4 separate regions of the Homo sapiens genome follow, and all the other regions are linked to region 2. Evidence: promoter capture Hi-C in 16 types of primary human blood cells and fetal thymus (Javierre and others, 2016). All regions are on one chromosome and are shown on one strand. Each heading gives the region's core, a stretch centred on a gene start or on the middle of the fragment in contact. The rest is flanking DNA. Distances are from core to core; before and after follow the strand shown. Region 1 has its middle 33 kb from the start of TERLR1. Region 2 holds the start of LPCAT1 (lysophosphatidylcholine acyltransferase 1). Region 3 overlaps NDUFS6 (NADH:ubiquinone oxidoreductase subunit S6). Region 4 has its middle 8.3 kb from the start of SLC12A7.

Evidence for each region. Contacts are between HindIII fragments. The CHiCAGO score rates a contact against its expected background, and 5 or more counts as called.
Region 1: a fragment that was not itself captured here is called in contact with the fragment with the promoter of LPCAT1 in region 2 in 4 of 17 cell types (total CD8 T cells, total B cells, monocytes and 1 more); the score reaches 6.4 in total CD8 T cells.
Region 3: a contact is called between a fragment that was not itself captured here and the fragment with the promoter of LPCAT1 in region 2, in 1 of 17 cell types (neutrophils). The highest score is 7.0, in neutrophils.
Region 4: a contact is called between a fragment that was not itself captured here and the fragment with the promoter of LPCAT1 in region 2, in 1 of 17 cell types (monocytes). The highest score is 7.9, in monocytes.

Annotation. Positions count from the first base shown.
Region 1 is chr5:1,144,604-1,147,576 of GRCh38, forward strand. It overlaps a transcript of SLC12A7 not described here. Among named protein-coding and RNA genes, the nearest start is that of TERLR1, 33 kb to the right of the region's middle. The HindIII fragment of the contact is 9,090 bases long and covers 1-2,973 here.
Region 2 is chr5:1,522,492-1,525,564 of GRCh38, forward strand. It overlaps LPCAT1 (lysophosphatidylcholine acyltransferase 1), which reads right to left and starts at 1,469. Exons shown (of 14, transcript NM_024830.5): 1 at 1,219-1,469. The coding sequence starts at 1,353. RefSeq lists silencers at 657-856, 1,127-1,436, 1,457-1,856 and a cis regulatory region at 2,626-2,861. The HindIII fragment of the contact is 5,602 bases long and covers 1-3,073 here.
Region 3 is chr5:1,806,008-1,809,100 of GRCh38, forward strand. All of the region lies in intron 2 of NDUFS6 (NADH:ubiquinone oxidoreductase subunit S6), which reads left to right. Among named protein-coding and RNA genes, the nearest start is that of NDUFS6, 6.1 kb to the left of the region's middle. The HindIII fragment of the contact is 5,373 bases long and covers 1-3,093 here.
Region 4 is chr5:1,118,899-1,121,788 of GRCh38, forward strand. It overlaps a transcript of SLC12A7 not described here. Among named protein-coding and RNA genes, the nearest start is that of SLC12A7, 8.3 kb to the left of the region's middle. RefSeq lists an enhancer at 122-655. The HindIII fragment of the contact is 6,930 bases long and covers 1-2,890 here.

The DNA of each region.
Region 1 (2,973 bases), core at 306-2,805, 380 kb before region 2:
ACCCGCCTTGAAAATGACCCCTCAAACCAGCGGACCGCACCACACTTTACAATTGAGTACAGCTATTTATCCATTAACACCTGTACCACTTCCAGACCAACAGATCACCAGGCTGCAGTGGGGACATGTGAGAAAATTACAGGCAAGGAAGCAAAGACTAGAACCAGGTGTGTCTCTGAGTTCCAGCCCTGCTGAAATGCCCGTCTGAATAAACAGGGGCCACTGCCATCCCGGCTGCGCATGCACAGGCCTCCGAGCGGCAGAAAGCAGGGATGACACCAATGTGGCTTTAAACCAGTGTTCAATTCCCATGGCTGATTCGGAACGTCCTGAGGCAAAACGTGAAGTTTACTGCATCCGAGGAAGGAAGTGCAGCACCCACAGCAGCAGCCAGCACCACTGGACCAACCGGGCCGGGGCTGGGGAAGGAGCATGTGCTGTCGGCACGGCCAGGCCGGGCCTGGAGGGCTGGAGAGAGCCTGCGTGGGACAGCAGCTGGAGGCCGCAGGGGGCCCAGGGATCACCCCTTCTTCAAAGGGAACCTGGCCGAGAACTCGGCCCTCACACTTGGGTGTGGGGTCTCTGGAGACAGGACAGTGAGTGGCCACAAGGGCCAGGCAGGGGCCGCTGCCAGTGGGCCTGGAAGACCAGCGAGGGCTCATGTCCATCACACGGTCTGTGCAGTAAATGATGGCCGGTTCCGCAGACCCCCTCCCTGTGGGGACACAGCTGCTGGGGTGGTCACCCCTCCCCCTAATTCCCAGCTGAGGTGCCCCTGCAGAAGCCCCGAGTGCCCAGCGGGGTAATTGCGGCCAGGTGCTTGCTCTTGGAGCACTGAGGAGCCATCGGAGGCTGCAGGCTGCCTAGCGGCCAGGCTTGCTGCCCCTTCCTGGAATCTGCCCACAGGAAGTCAGAGGCTGCCAGCCCCTTCACTGACCTTTCCAGGACCAGCCAGGAAGGGCTCACAAAGGATGTTATTTGAAACAGGAAGGTCCCTGGACAAAAATATCTCTTCCAAGAGGCCTGAAAGAGCACCTTGCAGAGAGTAATTTAGATTAAACAGGACCCCCTCCCTGGAGAGCCTGCCTAGGTGTGAATTGATTTAATCAAACTGGCCTCCTCTCAGAAAACTAGAGGCCAGGATCAAGCGCCTCTGTCCTCTGCAGAAGGAAGGGGCTGGGGGTGCGGGAGGGTTTAGTTTATCTCTAGGCCCCTACTGTCTGCTTGCATTTTCTTTTTGGTATTTTTTGTATTGTGATAAAATACACATAACATTTTACCATTTTTACCATTTTTGGGTGAGCAGTTCAGTGGCATTAAATGCAGTCACAATGCTGTAAAACCATCACCGCCATCCTTCTCCAGAACTTCCTTTGCAAAACTGCAGCTCTGCACCCATTAAACTGACTCCCATTCCCCTCCCCCAGCCCCTGGCAGTCCCCGTTCTGCCTCCGTCTCCCAGAATTTGACAACTCCAGGCTCTGCCTGCAACTGTTATTCTGCAGGATTGACCTTTCTGTGTCTGGCTGCCCCATCCCTCCTCATTCCCAAAGGCTCTCCCTGGAACCTGCTCCCAGCAGGAGGGGCCATTCCCTGGTCACCCACCTTCTTGAGGCTCCTCTGGGAGAGTCTCCAGGTCTGTGATGAGACCTCAGGGACCTGCCAGCAGGTGGGCTTTTGGAGTGGAGTTGTGGGAGCCCAGATGCTGGTGACCCCTGGAGGTGACCACCTGGGCCAGTGACCACGGACCTCCAGGCCTGGGTCCCTCTGACCTGGCCGTGGAATGAAGCCTGGGGTGCCTGCATGTGGGTGGGAGCAGTGGTGGCCTGCTGAGAGGTGTTCAAAGCCATCTCTGCAGTGTAAACAAAAAATAAAATTCTAAGGCTCCTCCCCGACCGTCTGGATGGACCCCTCCTCTGGGCCAGGACACCCCAACGTTAACCAGAAAGACTGCTTCAGGCCACGACGGGAAGCGGTGGTCGGCCATGCCTCATGCCGCCCTCCTCCCTTTCGGAATTTAGGAAAAGCCGACCAGCAGTAACATCAACACAGACCTTAAGTCTGGTAAGAAACACCATACAATCTCTTCTCTCTGGAGCCTGCTACCTGGAGGCTTCACCTGCATGATGAAACCTTGGCCTCCACAGCCCCTTACCCTAACCCAGACAATCCTTTCTATTGATAGTAACTCCCAAACAATTGCCAATCAGAACATTTTTAAATCTACCTATGACCTGGAAGCCCCACTTGGAGCTGTCCCGCCTTTCTGGACCTGACCAATGTATATCTTAAATGTCTCATGCCCGCCTGAACTAAGGCCCAGCTGCACCCGCCCACCTCCCGAGGGCCGTGTCACTGCACAGTCACTCTGTGTGGCTCAGAATCAATCTCTTCAAATATTTCACAGACTTTCGCTCTTTTCATCGACAGGCTTATTTCGTTCACACAATGTCCTCAGCCTCCATCCATGTGGCAGTGTGTGTCTGAATTTCCTTTCTTTTGTAAACTAAAAACAAAATCCAAAGTCCCACAGACAAATGAACGGAACACCCCTCTTGGACAAGGGGACCCAGGGCAACAGGAAACACTAAATTCCCACGGTGACAGAAGGGAGGAGGGACTCTCCTCATCACGGCCCACCCCGCCACCCCCCCCGCCCCCGCCTTTAGGAGTTCAGGTGCAGCTGACCCACACTAACTCCAAAATAGTTATCCAAAGACGGCAGAACAGACTCTGTGGCGGTAAGACCCCAAATCCAGCCTGACCCTGGTATAGAGACCCACCGAGAGTCCCTCCGACCCGGAGAGACCCGCCGAGGGTCCCACACCCGGAGAGACCCGCCAGGAGTCCCCACACATTTGAAGGCCCTGCCTGCCCTCTGTCCTCTCGGGGCCGCCTCCTGGAGGCTTCTACGTCACCAGCACCTTGGTCTCCACAGCCCCTCAGCTGAAGCCAAGTGATTCTTTCCACCCA
Region 2 (3,073 bases), core at 219-2,718:
CTCACCCTGTGTGTCACCAGGAGGGGCGGCACCATCGGGCTCTCCTGCTCCCCGTCCCCTTCCATACCCTGAGGACCAGCCGCATCAAGGGGCTTTGAGCAAAAGCAGGCGTCCTGGGAAAATGACAAGCTCAAACTGGCCTCAAGAACTTTTCACTTCAGGGTTCTTTCAGATAAAGTACTTTATGCATTAACAAATCTCCATCTTCCCGGAAATCTATTCTCACAATTGGAAGCGTGCTCCCTACAAACCGGACAGCCCCATAGGCCCCGAAACAGTGCTTGCTTCTAGGAATTATTCTAGAGTCAAAAGTAAGGTCCTCTTGAGAGTGGATCTCAGGTAACTGTAAGCCCAGCTGGCAGCCAGGTAGCCGGAAAAGCCAGGCTGAGCCAGCACATCCCCGGTGCAGCTTCCTGCAGCGAGCGGCCCCCTCCCCACGACGCCCCCGGGTCTCCCCTCACCACTGTCCCATCGCAGGATCTCAGCAAACCGTTCCCTCCCACGTGGCAGCCCAGGTTGCATAAAGTTGATTCGGGTCAGACCAGCCCCGAGAAAGCATCCCTTACAACAGGAGCGAAGCATGCACCCCAGAAGGCAACGTGCGGCCGCAGAGCAGGGAGACCCGTGCGCCTACAGGGGACCCTACAGGGGACCCGCACCGCCCGCGCGCCCTGTCCCGGGCACCACCAGGCCCCGCACACGAGGCTCACCCAGAGCCGCGGTGCCCTCCCGCCCGCGGGCCGCGTCCAGGCAAAGCCGCTCCGGAGTCCCCGGGCTGCGCGCAGGGCCTGCCAAGGCGGGCGGGGCCCGGACCAGGGACGAGCGCGGGGACCGGCGATGCGGGTCCAGCCTCCCGCGGGAGCCGAGGTCGGGGCTCTGGGAGGCAGAGAAAGGGTTGTGGGCCCGGTTCAGGGTGCAGGGGTCTGGGGGGAGGAGCAGAACGCGGGGCGGGGATGGGAAGCGGGGACCCCGAGGAAGGCGCTGAGGGACCAGGATGCGCGTGCGGGCGGCGGGAAGCCGGCGCCGAGACCGAGGCATCGGGTGCGGGCGGCGGGGACGCGAACTGAGGGGCGGCCGCGGGGAGGGAAGGCGCCGCGGCTCGCAGGGCCGCGCCGCGCCCCAGGCCCCCTCCCCGGCCCCTCCTCGGCCGCGCCTCCCTGGCCCCAGCATCCCTGGCGTCCGCGCCGGCTCCCGGGGCCGCGCGCCCTGGGCACCCACCTGGGCCTTCTGCAGGGCGCTGAGGCGCAGCTCGTGCACGAAGGGGTTCCGCCCCGGGGGCGCCAGCAGCCGAGCGTCGCTGGCCCCTGCGCTGGAGGCAGGGGCGGCCCGGGGTCCGCATCCCCGCAGCCTCATGGCCGCGCCGTCCCGCGGCGAGCGCAGCCGAGCTGCCTGGGGCGCCGAGCGGGGCCGGGGCTAGCTGGGCGCGGGTCTCGGGGCGCGGGCCGAGGATGCGCGGCGGCTGGAGCGGGCCGGGCGCGCAGGCGCGGGAGGTGACGTGGGCGGAGCGGGAGCGCCGGCCGGGGCGGGGCGTCCCTGGAAGCCTCGCCTCCCGCCGGCCGGCAGGGGCGGCACCAGCCGGAGTTCCGCTACCTGGTGGTTTCTCTGGGGTCTGTGGGGGGCCGGGGCCGCTGGGGACCGGGGGCGCCTCCTGCAGCCACTGGAGCACAGGGATCCCCGGCAGGGTCTGCGCCAGGAGAAAGGGAGGTCCCCCGGGCCCGCGAGGCTGCCACGTCGTCCCCTTCCGCCGCTCGGCCCGCCTGCTCGCGGGGAGGGAGGAAGGGGCGGGCACGCGTCCAGCTTACGCGCAAGGCGGGCCAGGCCCTGGGTGCCGAGCCCCGGGCTGTTCCGGCGAAGGCCCCACGCCATTCTTCTTATTCGTTGGGCTCCTAGCTCGCACCGGCGACCCTGGAAGCTGCCCCGGGCTGAGGGAGCTTCTTCCAGCCGCGCCTCAGCCCAGGCGACTCCCGCCTGAGGTCCACTCGACCTTAGGACCCCCCAGACCTCGGGATCCCCTCAGATCTCAGGACCCCTCAAGCCTCAGGACCCCCTCAGACCTCAGGACCCCTCCGATCTCAGGACCTCTCAGGCCTCAGGCCCCGCAGGGATGGCCCAGGCAGGAGGCGCACATAGGGGCCCTGACTGTCCGTGCTGGTTGTGCAGGGGCTGCGATGAGATCCCAGCGCTTTCTCACCCGTAGCTGCTTTGGCTCGGGCATTGCCCTTGTGGTGCTCAGGAGCCGTGTGAGGAGCCCCAGGGTGGGGCCCATAATTAGCCGGAGCGAGAGTAGGATGGGCTCCTGCCTCCGGGTGAACACGCTTGGATTTCAGAACTCACGCAGGCCTTCGGTCACAGTGCTCACGGCTTCCTCACCCCGGCTGGCCCTGTTGGTTCCTTCATGGCCAACGGACCTCACCCAGACAGAGCCGGTTTGGGCCACCTGGCCAACCCCCCAGGGTCCTGGCTCCTGGGGATGTCACTGCTGTGTTGGCCCCAGCTGGGCCCCATCCTCAGCAGACGCCAGGGAGTGCCCCGACCCCTCCAATGACCCTGCCTGCGCCCTTGTGGACCTCATAGTGCAGCGGGCTGGCAGAGACCCTTCTGTGTCTGAGACCGGGGTGAGGGCCAGGGGTCTGTGCCATCCACATATCATGCACAGAGAAGGCCCCGGCAGGCCAGACCCGCTGCATGGCCTTATTCCTGCCCCATAAGAGTCCCAGCCCATATTCCTGCCCCATAAGAGTCCCAGCCCATGCCTAGCAGCAGCACCTGTCCCAAGTGCCACACCCACGGGGATGGGGTGAGCCCTGTGTGCTGGTGGGCATTGGTGGCTCTGTGGCCCAGCCACCAGCGTTGCACCCACCTCCTGGGCTTTTAGTGGCCACTTGCTCTGATCCCCAAAACCAGAGCCCAGCACCCGAGGCCACCCAAGGCTCCTCACCGAACTGATCATCAAGAAAGCCCAGGACACAAAGCCTGCCAGCCACAGGGCAGCACCTGCACCCCAGCGATCCAGGCGGCCCCACCTGCTGCCTGAGTGCTCTGGAGAGGAGGGGCCCTAGGGTGTCCCAGTCCT
Region 3 (3,093 bases), core at 37-2,536, 280 kb after region 2:
CTCTAGTGTGTGTTCGCCTTACTCTGCTGCTGCCTTCGCCACCACCATGAGGGCAGGCTTCACTTTTAGATTTTTTTAAAATACTGAAGTTAAACGTTAGTGTCTATACACAAGGTCTTTACTTTTAGTTTTTGAAAAGAAGGAATTAGGCAGCAAACCCGGAACATCAGGAGGCTGGGATCCCTTGAGTGCGACTCTGTGCCACCCCTCTCCACCTGTGTGTGTCAGGATCACGGAACAGCTGGGGGCTTCAGCTTGTGCCTTCATCTGCCCGCCAGTGGGATGGATTCTCTCCTCAGATGCTCGGCAGGGCGGAGTCACTCCCTGACCCGCACAGCCCACAGCTGGGCGTTTGGGTCAGCGAGATTCTGCACGTTTTCTGAGACACCTAGGCTGGCAGGGTTGAGTCCAGTTGTGACCCTGTGGCCTCACCTGCCTGGCCCTCAGTTCTTCAGTAGCAGACTTCAAGGTGCGTGGTGCCACCAGGATTAGGAGCAGTTGCACGCGGTGCAAATGTCTACCTGGCGTGCTGTTTTGTTGCGATAATGTGAAGTTTTATCCTTCTGAGAAGAGTGTGTAGATTTCGTTAATGGAAATAATTGAGTAGTGCTCACGAGAGAGGAAAACTACCAAGACCCTCCAAACAGAAAACAAGCGTGGGTGACGGCGTGGAGCAACTGAAACTTTGTGCCTTGCTGCTGGGAATGTAAAATGGCACAGCCGTGAAGGAAAACAGCGTGTGGGTTCCTCAAAAAGTTGAAACTAGGACTTCCATCCAATCCAGCGGTTCCACTTCTGAGCGTGTGCCCAAAAGAACTGAAAGCGGGGTCCGGGGTACACTCGTGTCATAGCAGCATTATTCATTATAACTCAAATCTGGAAGCAGTTTGGGGGTCCATTGTCAGCTGAACGGATAAGCAAAATGTGATCTGTCCATGGACAGTGGAATATTATTCAGCCTTAAGGAAGAACGCTTGACACGCCCCACAACACGGATAAGCCTGGAGGACGTTGCGCTCAGTGAAGTGAGCCAGTCACAGAAGCAGACTGCGTGATTCCTCTAACACGAGGGACCAGAACAGTCGCTTCTTAGAAGTACTGTATGAGGTACTCAGAGGTACTGCGTGAGGTACTCAGAGGTACTGCGTGAGGTACTCAGAGGTACTGCGTGAGGTACTCAGAGGTACTGTGTGAACACTGTGTGATTCCTCTGATACGGGGGACCAGAACAGTCGCTTCTTAGAGGTAGCAAGTAGTTGGTGGTTGCCGGGGGCGGGGGGTGAATTTGGAGTTAGTGTTGAATGGAAATGGAGTTTCAGTTTACGAAGGTGGAAGGTTCTGGAGATGGGTGGTGGTGATGGTTGCACAATAATGTGAATATACGTGGTGTCCTTAGAAATGGTAAAGATGGCAAGTTTTATGTTATGTGTATTTTACCACAATTAAAAAAAAATTAAGAGGGAAGTGGCTTCAGGCCCACGCAGGAATTGACCAGAGGTTCCTCCCTGAGGCTTCTGTGGCTGGTGTCGCTCATTCTTATTTCTCCCAAGAGGCCGGCAGGGCAGGGCACACTCGGGTGGGGAAGCAAGTGAGGCTGAGGCTGGGCCCACGCGGCACCTCCAGAGGCTCTGCACACCCGTGGTGGTAACTTGTGTTATCACCCAGGACAAGCGCACTCCTCGGATCAGCAGTGGAAGAAACTTGTGACATCTTTCGTCTACATTGAGCCATCTCTTGAGGCCAGCGCAGCACCACCCGAACCATGTTGGCTCTCGTGCGTGCACACACACACTGTTGGTCACAGGAGGGATGCCACCAGAGAGCTGAGAGGGAGTGCTGAGGTACCCAGGGGTCAGTAGCTGCAGGAAGCAGCCACTATTCCTAGGACTTGGGGGGCAGGAGGAAGAGGTGGCGTCACCAGGAGGGAGCTGTGAAAGTGCCCTTGTGGTGCCGCTGGAGCTCCAGGTGGGAGACAGGACTGGGAGTCGGGGATGGGTGCTAGGGTGAGGCCCCCAGCCAGACAGTGGTGGCTGAGAAGGTCCTCCGTGAGAGGAAGATTGAATTGAGGGGCCTCGGAATTCCACCCTCCGCCTTTGCAGGTCATCTGGTTGGTGGCAGAGGTGGAGCTCTGTGCTTGCTTCCAGGTTCATCCTTAGAGGGTTTAAGAGGGGAGGTTTGCCTGAGTCTCTCTTGTCTTGAAGCAACCTGGGCGTCCTTTAGGGGGTGTTTGAGACGCGGGCGGTGCGATGTGCGCCATGGCTGCTCTCCAGAGCTTTTGTGTGGCTTCCCGCTTCTGCATGCTCCTCCTCCTGAGCTTCCCTCCCAAATACGCCATCTTTATAGTGGAGTGAAGGCAATCGGATTTTAAAAGAAATCTTCTGGATGGATAAGAACCGTGGGTCTTTGCTTCCTTTAGAAAGGCTTGGACTGTCAGAAATAATGGTTATAAAGTGAGGTTTATTTATCCCAGGACCCAGAGGAAAATAGTTGGAACTGTGAATTCACGAGCCCCAGGTTCACATGCTGGTGGCTTTGTTTGTGAGCTGGCGAGATGGGCTTTATTTCCTCCCTCATGCAGCTCCCCAGCTTCGTCTTTGCTTCTCTATTGTGTCTTTGTGTCTTGTGGTTCTTTCTCTTCCAAGGCACTGGCAAAATTAGTCACTGGATTCCAACATTCTCAAAGCAAGTTTGAACATGTTGTACAGACAGCTCAATTGTGGTTTTTAGAGCATTTTCTATAAAGTTACTTAGTTTAAAAATTAATTTGAATGAAAACTTCAGTTTTGCCTGTGATTTAAGAATTATATACTTATATAGACATGTATACACACGTTTAGCTTAAATAATTATTGGCATTCATGTTCAGAATGCCTGATGTTCTAAATAATTGAACTGAGCTTTTACTTTATTTTAAACTTTTATTTTAAATGTCCATGAATGGGGTCGGTATTCTACAGTGTCGATGATCCAGCTGGTGGACTTTTCCCTTCTGCGTTGGTTTTGATGCTGTGTCACAGAATCACATATTTTATGTTTTATCTTTAATAGATGTAATCTCAGTTTGACACAATAGGACTTTGACTCCTAAAGATT
Region 4 (2,890 bases), core at 160-2,659, 400 kb before region 2:
GGCAGAGCTGGCGCTGACATCAGCCTCCCGGCGGGAGGGGCTCACAACCCACACTGAGCACCCAGAGCCAGACCTCCCCAGAGGAATGTTCTGGGGGAGAGGGAGGGGCACAGACGACTGCTCCCGAAAGGAGGGCCCTGCCTCGTTTTGTGGCCCCGCATCTGGTGTGCTCACCCTCAGTCTGCAGCAGCTCGAAGCCCTCCTGATGAGAGCCGACACAGGCAGGGGCCAGAGTCGCTTTTGCAGCGCTGGAAGGCTGAGTTCTGCCATCAGCTTTGCATTTTACAGCTTTCTGCTGGGATCAGAGAAGCACCTGCACAACCTCCCCTGCGTTTTCTAAACATTCAGCTGGGAACCTGGACTGCAAAGCCCGGCCTCAGTTACCGCCACTTTTTCCCAGAGCCCTTTTGGGGTGAGTTTTCTGGACTTGCTCATCAGGGCCAGCACTCGTTAAAGGTGAGGACCCCGTGATCCCACCCCGCACAGCAGTACCCAGACACCCGCTAGGGCCCCAGCTCCCAGGGGACGCCGCAGGCACGCACACATCCCTGCCCGGGTGACGCCGAGGTTACACAAGCCCTTTGGAAAGCTCTGGTGCTGCCTTGGCTGCACCATGACCCCCTCCAGCTGTGTGCGGCCGGCTCGCCGCCCATGGTGCTGTGGTCCTGGTTGGGCGGTGAGGTTCAGCCCTGACCGTCGGGCAGCGACCGTTTCAGGAAGCACGGGAACAACGGACTTTGAGCCACCTTCCTCTCCCCAGCACCCTTTCAGCCACCCCGTGCCAGGCTCCCCACCCACACAGCCCCATCCCAGGCACGCGGTGGCTCTGGAGGGCTGCATGTCAGGGTGCAGACCAGAACACGCCCGATTCCTTCCAGGCAATGGACAAATGGGGTCCACCGGCGCTGTCCTGTGATGGGCAGGCTGGGGGGCGGTGCCCAGCTTTGGGCCCTGTAGCCTCAGGCCTCCCCTCAGGCCACCTGCCCCCTGTGGCTGCTTCTGCCTCCCCGCAAAAATCCAGTCTGAGCTGGCTGAAGGCGCACAGGTGTCACCATGGCCCAGGCAGCTGGGACCCCCCCATAGGTCAACAGCCTGTCATTGGGGTCACTCAAGGGCCTTTCTGCCCAGCTGGCAGGGCCTGACCAGGTCCCCTGAATTTCACCCCCAGAGTGCAGTGGATCCCCCTGGGGCTGAGGGGACCCTCCACGGCCCCAAAGCCAGAGAGCACAGATTGACACTCAGAATCATGGCTGCAGACCCTGCCACAGCCCCAAACATGCTCTTCATAAGAGAAAGGCTGACAAAGTGGTCTTCACTAAAATGACACACTTCTCTTTCTCAGAAGACGCTCTCAAGGGCAGGGGAGCAAGCCCGGGTGCAGCTGGGTGGGCACCTGCCGTCCACAGGGCCCCCCCACCGGCAGTGTCCGGATCACACGAAGACGGCTTACAGACCAGCAAGGAAACGCTGAACCCGGAGGACAAGAGGGCAAAGACTTGAACTAACATGGAGGAGCACGTGGAGATGCCACCTCGCCGGGGGACGCGCGCCGTCGGCAGTGTGCCGGGGACACCACGGTGTGCTGGCCAGATGCTCACAGCCGCTGTACCTCCCCACACAACTGGAGGTCCGTGGAATGCACGGCCACTGTGGAAAACTCCAGACACGCCTCCATCACCACCCAGAAACCCCACTCTCAACAGAAACACACAGACACTAAGCAAAAGACACACAAAGGCCTTCCTGGGAGCCCAGACTGGACACAGCCCACATTCCCATCAGCAGGGCAGTGGGCGACGGGCCACAGATGGCGTGTCCCTTCAGGGAGTGTCTACCACACACGCCAGGGATGATCTCGCACGTGGGCTGCAGGGCAGGAGGAGGTCGGCATGATGCTGTCTACGTGAAGCTCAAGGGCAGGCAGGACTCACCCTGGGGTGCACACCAGCACAGACGGCAGTCCCTGTGCAGCAGAGACGGCTTCCAGGGCTTGGAACGGCCACGCTTCGACGCGAAGGGCTCCTGGGCCTGCCCGAGCTCGGAGCTCACCCGGCAAAGATTTAAGATGTGTGCTGCTCCCTGGGTGCCAGCTGCACCTCACTCAGAGGAAATAAGAGTGGCTCAGAGCATGTGCTGCACGGTAGACTCGGTGCATCCTGACCTTGACACTGAGTCCACCCAACCCTCCTGCTGCCCGCCACCGTTCCCCAAGCTGCCTCCTGCACGTCCCCGCATCCCTCATCTTGCAGGCAGTGGGACAGCTGGGCTGTTTCTGTCACATTCTCTGTGAAGAAGAGTCCAGGCCAGCAAATATTTATCACCAAGTGTCTGGCCAGTGTGGTCCCCAGACACAGCTGTCTCCGTCCCAAGGCCTGGACTTTACACGTGGAGTTCCCTGTGTCGGTCCCCAGACAGCAGTGGTGCCACCTGGCAGGGGTTTGGCCTGTGGAGGGCTGTGCCCCTGAGGCCCACGGGAAAGCTCATGGACTTGCTGGGGGGCAGGGCCGACATCAGCGCCCGTGTGCGGATCCCCCTGCAGCCGAGTCCCAAGCAGGATCGTCACCCTCACATTCCTCTCCGGTGGAATGCTGCTGAGAGGTCCTTTAAGCATATGGCCTCAAGTAATCGTGGAAAGAGAAGGCAGCGGCATTGGTGGGCACAGGAAGGATCCATGCCACTTTGTGGGACCCAGAGAGGCAGTGTGACCTCAAGGGCTTACAGCCAGTGAGTGGCAGGCAGGGACAAGGGGGAGTTCCAGAAGCCTTAGGACATTCCTTGTCCCATGGATGACTGGAAGGACCCTTCCCAGATGGGAATCCCCTGCCCGCCCCAGCCATGCCCAGCACTGAGGGGTGAACCCTGGAAGCACCCATGGGTCAGCCCCGGAGCC